Linked DNA regions of Homo sapiens: all the other regions are linked to region 1. Evidence: promoter capture Hi-C in human tissues and cell types (Jung and others, 2019). All regions are on one chromosome and are shown on one strand. The core of a region is centred on a gene start or on the middle of the fragment in contact, and the rest is flanking DNA. Distances in the headings are between cores, read along the strand shown. Region 1 holds the start of ENSA (endosulfine alpha). Region 2 holds the start of BNIPL (BCL2 interacting protein like). Region 3 holds the start of MRPS21 (mitochondrial ribosomal protein S21).

Region 1 (3,462 bases), core at 706-3,205:
AACAACTATACTATCAACTTCTCCTGGAAATCCACCCACTTGTAAATACGCTATCTCTACTCTGCTGTTAAAGCTAGACCTTTGTTAAAATCCCTAAAGCTCAAGATGACTATTGTGAGAGAAAAAGACAAGCTGCTTCTCACACTTCACCCAAGGAACCAGCCAGGGACCTGTGCGTATTGGGCTAAAGGTAATACTAAACACAATACTTTAATCACAGAGTGGGCCATATCACTCAGCACAAATGCTAAGAAAGACAAAGAGAAAAAAGCAGGGCTTCTGGTGATAGAGGATGAGTAGCAGGGTTCCCTAGGCTATCCTACATGTCACATGAGAAATTAAAAAAAAAATAGTTTGGGGCTGGGAGCAGTGACTCATGCCTGTAATCCCAGCACTTTGGGAGGCTGAGGCAGGTGCATCACTTGAGCTCATGAATTCACTACCCGCCTGGGCAATATGTTGAAACCCCGTCTCTACAACAACAAAAAATAGTTTGCTAAATGTTTCCTCCTTATTTTTTTCTTTCTTTTTTAAAATTGCTACACGACAAAGCAGTTCCTTCTTTATTCAAGGTCTAAGCCACCTGTTAGGTCTCCCTGTGGAGGCGGCTAGCTATGTGGCCTTCTCCAAAGATCTCCACCTGAGTAATGGCACAGCCTTGCTTCAACATTTCCACAAATATTATGGTAGCAAGCTGATAAACAGAGAGGAAAATGATACTGTTTTTAACCTCAGGAAAACAAAGATACAGTAGGCTCACTAGTATTTACCCACCAGTTTTCATCAAAAAAATCAATACCTACCCTGGTGGTGCAGGGACTCTCACTACTGTAGTCAATCTCTTTTTTTTTTTTTTGTGGTCCCTGCTGCCCTTTAGTGACTTTTTGAAAAGATATGAAGTCAACGTATGACTCTTTTTAGTGGAATTATATTCCTTTCTCTTGGAAATTACGCATAGATATAACACCAAGTGTATTTAATGAGTACCTGAACCCAGTACTAAATTTTAAAAGTCAAATACAAACCCCAATAAGGGGTTTATTTGGCGTTAGTGTTTCCATCACGGAATCGCAGGTGCACTAAGTCCCTGCCTTGGAAGTCTAGGGGAAGAGAGAAGTGTCTTTCTCACGACCCTGTCGGCGTCTTTTCCAAGTTTAATTACCATGATTCTGTTTGGAACTCTAGCCCTCTTCAATATTGCTGGGTCCTCACTGAAGGTGAGCAATAGACCATCCTTAGCTACTAAAATAGGTCTCTTGAGAAAGTTGCCGCCTTAAACTAGCCATTATAATAACTACACTTCTCCCCTCCCCCAATACTGGTTTTTTTTTAAACGTCTTTACCTCGACCCCTATCTTTGCGGATTGAGGCTGCGGGCCCCAGCCCGGTTGCTGGGTCACTTACCTCTACAAACCAATAACACACATCACACCCAAGACCACCAGCCATCCCCTTTCCATTCACCGTCTTTCCAACCACCCGCCCCACGTCCATGCTCGGCCAATTATAGCACAGCGTCCAAGGTTTGAGCGGTAGGCCTATTGGCCAATCAGGAAGAGTACAGTACTGAGTGACAAACGACCCAACTAACCAGCGCCAAAGCAGCATGTCGTGTTGAAGCTCACCCAGCGTGACGCAAAAAGTGGCCAACCCCTGCGGAGCCTGAGACCATGGCGACCAATCCGCACTGGTGGGAGACCGTCTCCCGCCCCATCACGGTCTCCCCAGCTCGCCCGCCCGCACCCCTTCCACTTCACCTGCTTCTCCTCGCCGGTCTCCTCCGCAGGGTTCTCTTCTTCTTGTTTCTGGGACATGGCGGGACCGGGACTGTGGAGTGTAAGGGGCCCGGGAAGGCAACCGGAGAAGGGAAGGGGGAGGGGAAACGGGGACAACCTGCGCTGCTGCTTCGGCTCCTGTCACTAGGGTTGCTCAGTCAAAATGGCGGCCCTTGCCCGTGACGTTGCGACCGCCCCTTCCTATGAGAGCCAGTGGGAGTGAGGTAGATAGGGCAATGACGTAACGATCTACCAATAGTCGCCGTCTAAAGGTGGGCTCTATAGAGGCGACCGGCAAGCTGGAACACCAACCTGGAAAGAGAGTGAGCCACAAGGACCAATTGGAAGCCTGTGGGGGATATCGGGGGCGGGGCTGCTGGCTGTGGTACTTTTGCAGCTTTGGTGGGCTCCGGCTTCCTTCACTCCAGCCCACCGCGTCCGAGAGACTTAGCAGGGCGTCAAACTGGAGAGCGGAAGGATGGAACCTTTTATTCTCAGGTGGAGAGGATTAAGCTTTGCGGTGTTAGCAGAAAATGATCGAGCTCCAGAAAATGATTTGGAGGTCAGATTCGATTTTAAAGTAGTACTAACAGGCCGGGCGCGGTGCCTCACGCCTGTAATCCTAGCACTTTGGGAGGCCGAGGTGGGCGGATCACCTGAGGTTAGGAGTTCGAGACCAGCCTGACCAACATGGTGAAACCCCGTCTCTACTAAAAATACAAATATTAGCCGGGCGTGGTGGCGGGCGTTTGTAATCCCAATTACTTGGGAGGCTGAGGCAGGAGAATCGCTTGAACCCTGCAGGCGGAGGTTGCAGTGAGCCGAAATCGCGCCACTGCACTCCAGCCTGGGTGACAGGACGAGACTTTGTCGCGAAAAATAAAATAAAACGGTACCAATGGTATTACGATGTGTCACTTGGCCTGTGGAAGAGAGAGACTGAGTCTCAACCCGAGCTGTCTTGCAAAACACTAATGGCTTACGTTCCGTAGTTTCACTCTTATGTGTAGTTTTTATATTCCATCAGGGTGATCCCTTGGGGACTACGCTCCTTGAAACAAGGAGGACAGTGTAAGTATGTGGTAAACATTTGGTAAATACGGTTAATACTAGTTAACCTATCCAGAATTACAGTTTAACATTTCCTGGGCGTCTGTCTGTATGTGGATGGTACTGTGTTAGTTGGGGGGGGTACGTGTATAGTAAGGCAGTCTCTGCCCTTAGAAAGCTTACAGGCCTGGCTGGGCGCGGTGACTCACGCCTGTAATGCCAGCACTCTGGGAGGCGTAGGCGGGCGAATCACTTGAGGTCAGGAGTTCGAAACCAGCCTGGCCAACATGGTGAAACCCTGTCTCTACTAGAAATACAAAACAAGGCTGGGCACGGTGGCCCACGCATGTAATCCCAGCACCTTGGGAGGCCGATGAGGGTGGATCATGATGTCAGGCGATAGAAACCATCCTGGTCAACATGGAGAAACCCCGTCTCTACTAAAAATACAAAAATTAGCCAGGCGTGGTGGCGTGCACCTGTAGTCCCAGCTACTCAGGAGCCTGAGGCAGGAGAATCGCTTTTACCTGGGAGGCGGAGGTTGCAGTGAACCGAGATCGCATCTCGCCACTGAACTCCAGCCTGGGTGACAGTGAGAGTCCGTCTCAAAAAAAAAAAAAAAAAAAGAGTGGCAGAT
Region 2 (3,462 bases), core at 469-2,968, 410 kb after region 1:
CTTCTGTCCTGATCAGGTGGCCTGGCTGTTTCTTTGGATCCCTCTGTCCCAGAGCCACCCAGAACCCTGACTCTTGAGAATCAAGAAAACACCCAGAAAGGCCTTAATGACCTCATAGGCACTCTTCCAAAAAGACAACAGAACTGGAATGAGAGGCCTGGGTCTGTCTCCTGCCTTAGCAGGCCTATCAATTTCTTGTCAATCTCTTTTTTTCCTTGCTCACATTAAAAGGAAGCATGGAGTTCTAATGCTCCCATAAACTATGTATTTTGGCAAGACACTTCACTACTCCAGGTCTCACTTTCCCCATCTGTAAAACAGGGTTTGGACTAGGTGTTCCCTGGTATTCTGTGATCTGCCTCTTGCTGCCATTCTTTCTCTCCTCTGCTTCTCTGTATTTTTCTTCTGTTATCCCTGGGGGTGCTCAGGTTCACTTGATTGTCTGTATTTCTGTGTGGTTGTAGCAAGGACTCAGCCTCATGTAGCACGAATAGGGGTGTGGTTCATGGCGTGTTGACCCAGCAGAGCACTCCCTCCCACTAACTTGTTCTGCATGTGTAGAGTCTCCCCATTTTTTTTAACGCAACCCTTTCCCCTTTTTCCTACCCCACAGCTCTGTTCCATGTAAGTTGCCAACAGTTTCACTGAACAGTGGGGTATGTGATGGTTTTGGCATGACATCTTCAGTATGAGGGGGACAGTTTGACTTCACTTTGAGGGTGTGATGTCTGTAGCTATGTGGAAGGTAAAAATAGTGGTGTGATCATGAACCAAAGGAATTTATGTTTTGTAACTTGGGTACTTTATTTTGCATTTTGTTATACTATTAAATAATTTTTTCCTGTTTGGGGGTCTTACTGTCTTTTTTTACAAGTGTATTCAGGCCTTTCTCTGTGATAGTTGTTTCAGTCTCCTCAAAATTGATCCCCCTTCTTCCTACTATACTTAATGTCTTCTTTCTGTTGACTCTTTTTGGGAATAAGGAGCAACAGGCTTCTGTCTCCCCTCATCCTCAGCCTCCCGTTCAACTTGTTTATTCTCCCAGAAACCTCCTTATAACATACTTCCGTTTCCCCAGTTTTCCTTATGCTTGAAAAGTAGATCCAAGATAACAGTCCTAGAAACACACACAATGGTTTCTTTTTCTTTTTTTTTTTTTTTTTGAGATGGAGTTTTGCTCTTTTTGCCCTGGCTGGAGTGCAATGGCACAATCTCAGCCCACTACAACCTCTGCCTCCCAGGTTCAAGCGATTCTCCTGCCTCAGCCTCCCAAGTAGCTGGGATTATAGGCATGTGTCACCACGCCCAGATAATTTTTTTTTTTTTTTTTTTTTTTTTTTTTTTTTGGATTTTTAGTAGAGATGGGGTTTCTCCACATTGGTCAGGCTGGTCTCAAACTCCCGACCTCAGGTGATCCGCCTGCCTTGGCCTCCCAAAGTGTTGGGATTACAGGTGTGAGCCACCACGCCCGGCCAGAAACACAACGGTTTCTACTGGTTTTTTTGCTTATTTGTGTAAAGAGCAACTTTGAGAGGGATATATGGAGTCTGGAAAGGAGAACAAATTGCCTTCCTAGACTCAACCGAGACTGGCCCCCACTAGAAAATGCACTCTCCTCCCCAAAACCCGCCCCCTCACAGGAGGCAGGGTTTTTCTTTTGGGCAAACCTGCTCCTGGGGAGAGGAGTGGCAAAACCTGTTTTGAAGATGAGGTTACCTCCCTTCCACACCTCCCTCCTTGGAGGCAAGAGCTACAACAGCTGAGACAGAAAAGAGGTAAGGAAGTGTTGGGGGCTGGGACAACCAGCTCCCCAACAACTCCTAGGTGTTTAAAGAAGGAGGCAGGAAGACTTGTGAAGATGGGAACTATACAAGAGGCAGGAAAAAAGACAGATGTTGGGTAAGTAAGATCTTGGCTCACTTGATTGGTAACAGTGAATAAACAGTCCGGAGAGACTTCCCCACCACCCAGCTCTTACTGGGTCAAATCTCGGGTTCCTCAAGGAGACAAGACTGTAAGAGAGTTTGCAGAGAAGAGATGAGGGTGGTTTTAGGTAGGAAATGTCAGTATGGTATGGAACTGGGGAACAGGATTCCAGGATAATTCCCTGGTTTAAAAATAAAGGAAGTTTCTGTAATATGTTGTACCTGATAAATCTGCCTGTGTTCTTTTATTTTCTAACCCTCACCCTCCAGAATGGCCATCAGGAAAGCTGAACCAGAACCGAGTTTAGGTCCAGGTTCTCGTTCTGGCAAATCTTTCTCCTTACCTTCTTCCTCCACCCCTCCACTTATGCCATGTTTTCCCTTAGCCACTCCCCAGCTCGGTGGAGGAAAGGCAGGCCTAACTAGGTACCGTCTTCCCGACTTTGCTCAATGATAGCTGGGTGGGTCTAGCTGGGTTCCAGCCACTTGTAATGTGGGACATCTCTCACCCCAACTTTGTAGGTGGAGCAACTGCTACAGAGGTAAATATGATTAACTTTACATTCCATCTTTCGTCTGCTCCCAAACTTAACAGCAGGTAATCTGCTTCTAGCAAGTGGTGAAGGTAAGAGAAGCATCTGTATAGGAGGCAAGAGATCTGAGTCCTTTTGAAGGCCTATCCTCTGCTCTGTATCTCAATTACTGTTCTTCATTTCAATTATTCTTACCTACTATTCAGTTCCCTTGATCTTTTCTTCTTGGGGGCTGTCTTAGGGTCAGGGAGATTGCAGAAGCACCAGAACTAGGAGCAGCCCTGAGACATGGGGAGTTGGAGCTGAAGGAGGAATGGCAGGATGAAGAATTCCCTAGGTGAGGACGTGTGAGGGTGGCTGGGAGAAGGGAGGGGTGGTCACGAATGGACGGAGGGGATGGCGCGGCGGCTCATGGCTGTAATCCCAGCACTTTGGGTGGCCGAGGCGGGTGGATCACCTGAGGTCAGGAGTTTGAGACCAGCCTGACCAACACGGTGAAATCCCGTCTCTACTAAAAATACAAAATTAGCCAGGTGTGGTGGCACATGCCTGTAATCCCAGCTACTCGGGAGGCTGAGGCAGGAGAATCACTTGAACCTGGGAGGCAGAGGTTGTAGTGAGCTGAGATTGTGCCATTACACCCGAGCTTGGGCAACAAGAGTGAAACTCTGTCTCAAAAAAAAAAAAAAAAAAAAAAAAAAAAAGCAAATGGACACAGGGATGGTGAATTAGGACTTGAAGGAAAAAAATGGGAAAAAGAAAACAGAGGCCGGGCGTGGTGGCTGATGCCTGTAATCCCAGCACTTTGGGAGGCCGAGGCAGGTGGATCACTTGAGCTCAGAAGTTCAAGACTACTCTGGGCAACATGGCATAACCCCATCTCTACAAAAATACAAAATTTAGCCAAGTGTGGTGGTGCACACCTGTAGGCCCAGCTACTCGGGAGGCTGAGGTGGGAGGACCGCTTGAACCCTGGAGGTAGAGGCTGCAGTGAGCTGTGATTG
Region 3 (3,462 bases), core at 648-3,147, 340 kb before region 1:
CGGCCATCGTAGCCCAAAGCAGCCATACATAACACACAGTCAAATAAGCATGACTGTAGGTCAACAGCCTTATTTACAAAAACAGGTGGAGCAGGATTTGACCTGTAAACTGTAGTCTCCAGACCCCTGGTTTTAAATGACTTCTTCAAGGTCATAGGCCTGATGAGTATTAGAATTGGGATAGAATCCAGATCTCCCAACTTTGAAGCCAGTGCCTTTCACCACATTATGCTGTGGCATATTTTATTTATTATTTGTTTGTTTATTTATTTTTTGAAATGGAGTTTCACTCTTGTTGCCCAGGCTGGAGTGCAATGGTGCGATCTCGGCTCACTGCCACCTCCGCCTCCCAGGTTCATGTGATTCTCCTGCCTCAGCCTCCCAAGCAGCTGGGATTACAGGCATGTGGCACCACGCCTGGCTAATTTTGTATTTTTAGTAGAGACAGGGTTTCACCATGTTGGCCAGGCTGGTCTCAAACTCCTGACCTCAGGTGATCTACCCGCCTCAGCCTCCCAAAGTGCTGGGATTACAGGCGTGCGCCACCGCGCCTGGCCCTATTTATTTATTTATTCATTTTTAATTTTTTGAGACAGGGTCTCACTCTATTGCCCAGGCCAGGGTGCAGTGGTGTGATCAAAGCTCGCTGCAGCCTTGACCTTCCAGGCTCAGGTGATCCTCCCCCTCAGCCTCCCAAGTAGCTAGGACAACAGGCCATGCCACTACACCCGGCTAATTTCTATATTTTTTGTAAAGACGGAGTTTTGCTTTGTTGCCCAGGCTGGTCTCGAACTTCTGGGCTCAAGTGATCCGCCTGCCTTGGCCTCCCAAAGTGCTGGGATTACAGGTGTGAGCCACCGCGTCCAGCCCATATAATTTATTTTGCATTTATTATATACTACTTTGTTTTAGTATCTTTTATGTGGTCCTAGTGGTCCAGGAGGCACTAGAGTGGTATCAACAGTATCTGACACAGAGTAGTCATTCAGTGAAAGTTTGTTGACAAGCATAATAATGTCCCAATCTAGTTCTATTTCGTTACTTTGGACCTGGCTTACTCTGAGGTGGGCTTAAGTGTTAGTGTAAGTTATTAGCATCAACTGATGATGCACACGTCTGTGTCTGTGTCTGTGTGTGTGTGTGTGTGCGTGAGCGTGCGCGCGCACTCTCTCTCTAAGGGAGGTACGTTTTCCTACAGCCATTAGATGTTAACTTACGTGAATAACCATAAATGGATATGTACAGGTAGCATACAAATAGGAGGACGGGTGTCTCCACAGCGAAGAAGAAATTTAAAAGGAGGTTTTTCAGTAGGTCTCATTAGCACGAAAAGGCATAGAAGCTGACATAATTTTTTATTCTAAACCCTGCAGGTGTTTCCCATATATCTTTATTGATTTCACTTTATGTAGTTAAATTAGTGGGAAGATGATATAGGAAACTCACAGTATGTTTATTTCTTTTCCTTAGCACTTAGGCAGATGACGTGTATGAATCAATCTATTTTTCGTCCGGAGAGCAGATCTCAAAGAGTCTGTCCTTTCCAAAGAGAAAACAGGAAGCATCCTCAGGAAGCGCCTACTTCTCTTGTTTTCCATCGAGAAAGAGAAATGGCTCAAATATTTATCAAGGATTTCACAGGATTAAGGGGTATGAAATTGGGCTGACCTTCTCAGAGGCCGAAGGACTTCGACTCCATGAGAGGGCGAGAAACGTGTTTCGGGGGAATTTAAGTCAATGAGTATTTTGCTTTGTCAGGTGTAGAGTCCAGGCCCGGGGAAGAGAGGCAGTCAACAGAGGCCAGAAAGGACGTTGCTATGGTTTCCACGCACGTTGTCTCCCTCGGCCTGTTTCTTTGCGCGGCGCTGGCGATTCCGTAATTTCCGCTTCCGGTAGTGAGAACCCTTCCGGTGGGCTAGGTACTGAGCGCGCGAGGTGAGGAGTTGTGCAGGGTTTGGGGAAAGGAAGGCTGGCTTGGCGAGAGGGCAGGTTTGCGGGCTTTCGCCCCCTTTTCCAAAGACCAACAAAGAGTCCTTCCCCAACTCCCAACTCAACCCCTTTTGGAACTATGTGTGGTGGTTGGGACCCTGTGGCGCATCCTTGTCGCTCGTGTCCTTCTCATGCCCGGCGACGCGTCTTTGTGGTAACGCCCTGCTGCCATCTCTTTTCTTCTCTATGCGAGGATTTGGACTGGCAGTGAGAATAAGAGACAACGATTCACGTCTACTTTCTAGGATGACTTCCATGTGCTCCATCTCGCGCGTCCCTGAGCATGTTGAATTTCCAAATCCTAAATAAGCCGCGCGGTGTAGTTTGTATTATGTTGCGTTTCTCTTTCTGCTTTCCTCGCCCTTTCTCCATCATCCTTTAGGCTCTACAGAGTGAAGGTTTAAATCCAAGGTCATGGCAAAACATCTGAAGTTCATCGCCAGGACTGTGATGGTACAGGAAGGGAACGTGGAAAGCGCATACAGGACCCTAAACAGGTAACTGTTAAGGGACCAGAATCATGCCTAGACTCTCTGGGAAGTGCGGTGGTTATTCTCTCCCTTCCCCTTTCGTTGATTGTTCTCAAAACAGTGCCAGCCCAGGTGTTCACAGTCTCTTAAAACGTCTCAGCCCCTCAGTTTATTATCTTAAAAATGAAGTTCTGGGCCGGGCGCGGTGGCTCACGCCTGTAATCCCAGCACTTTGGGAGGCCGAGGCGGGTGGATCACATGCGGTCAGGAGTTTCAGACCAGCCTGGCCAACATGGTGAAACCGTGTCTCTACTAAAAATACAAAAATTAGCCGGGCGTGGTGGCAAACGCCTGTAATCTCAGCTACTCGAGAGCTGAGGCAGGAGAATCGCTTGAACCCGGGAGGCAGAGGTTGTAGTGAGCCAAGATCGAGCCACTTGCACTCCAGCCTGGGCAAGAGTGAGACTCTATCTCAAAAAAAAAGAAAAAAAGTTCTTCCTCAAACCTAACTGTATGAATTGTATTCAACAAGTAATCACCCCCCGCACCTCCCCGCTTTTAATTTTAATTTTAATTTTTTTTTTTTTTTTTGAGGCAGAGTCTCGCTCTGTCACCCAGGCTGGAGTGCAGCGGCACGATCTCGGCTCACTGCAAGCTCCGCTTCCTGGGTTCACGCCATTCTCCTGCCTCAGCCTCCTGAGCAGCCAGTACTACAGGCTCCCGCCACCACGCCCGGTTAATTTTTGTATTTATAGTAGAGATGGGGTTTCACCGTGTTGGCCAGGATGGTCTTGATCTCCTGACCTCAAGTGATCTGCCTGCCTCTGCCTCCCAAAGTGCTAGGATTACAGGCGTAAGCCACAGCGCCCGGCCCCGCTTTTTAAAAATTGAGACAGGGTCTTGCTGTGTCACTCAACAATCCTCCTGCCTCAGTCTCCTGACTAGCTGGGTCTAGTGACGCACGCCACCACCGCAGTTAATTTTTGTATTTTCTGTACAGAGG

Evidence for each region. The method cuts DNA at HindIII sites, captures the fragments that hold promoters and counts their contacts. A contact is called where the count stands out against the background at its distance.
Region 2: the fragment with the promoter of BNIPL here is called in contact with the fragment with the promoter of ENSA in region 1 in 1 of the 25 tissues and cell types used here (adrenal gland).
Region 3: the fragment with the promoter of MRPS21 here is called in contact with the fragment with the promoter of ENSA in region 1 in 1 of the 25 tissues and cell types used here (heart right ventricle).

Annotation. Positions count from the first base shown.
Region 1 is chr1:150,627,657-150,631,118 of GRCh38, forward strand. It overlaps ENSA (endosulfine alpha), which reads right to left and starts at 1,956. Exons shown (of 4, transcript NM_004436.4): 1 at 1,758-1,956. The coding sequence starts at 1,814. LOC112268239 (a long non-coding RNA gene) reads left to right here and starts at 2,163. Exons shown (of 2, transcript XR_007066603.1): 1 at 2,163-2,846. RefSeq lists enhancers at 1,671-1,940, 1,683-2,650, 2,651-3,462. The HindIII fragment of the contact is 5,200 bases long and covers 1-2,645 here.
Region 2 is chr1:151,034,868-151,038,329 of GRCh38, forward strand. It overlaps BNIPL (BCL2 interacting protein like), which reads left to right and starts at 1,719. Exons shown (of 10, transcript NM_138278.4): 1 at 1,719-1,899; 2 at 2,700-2,795. The coding sequence starts at 1,859. PRUNE1 (prune exopolyphosphatase 1) reads left to right here. Exons shown (of 8, transcript NM_021222.3): 8 at 1-846. The HindIII fragment of the contact is 8,096 bases long and covers 1-2,594 here.
Region 3 is chr1:150,291,964-150,295,425 of GRCh38, forward strand. It overlaps MRPS21 (mitochondrial ribosomal protein S21), which reads left to right and starts at 1,898. Exons shown (of 3, transcript NM_031901.6): 1 at 1,898-1,935; 2 at 2,372-2,486. The coding sequence starts at 2,404. LOC105371434 (a long non-coding RNA gene) reads right to left here and starts at 1,857. Exons shown (of 2, transcript XR_922129.4): 1 at 1,669-1,857; 2 at 1,337-1,534. RefSeq lists an enhancer at 2,186-2,245. The HindIII fragment of the contact is 19,456 bases long and covers 1-3,462 here.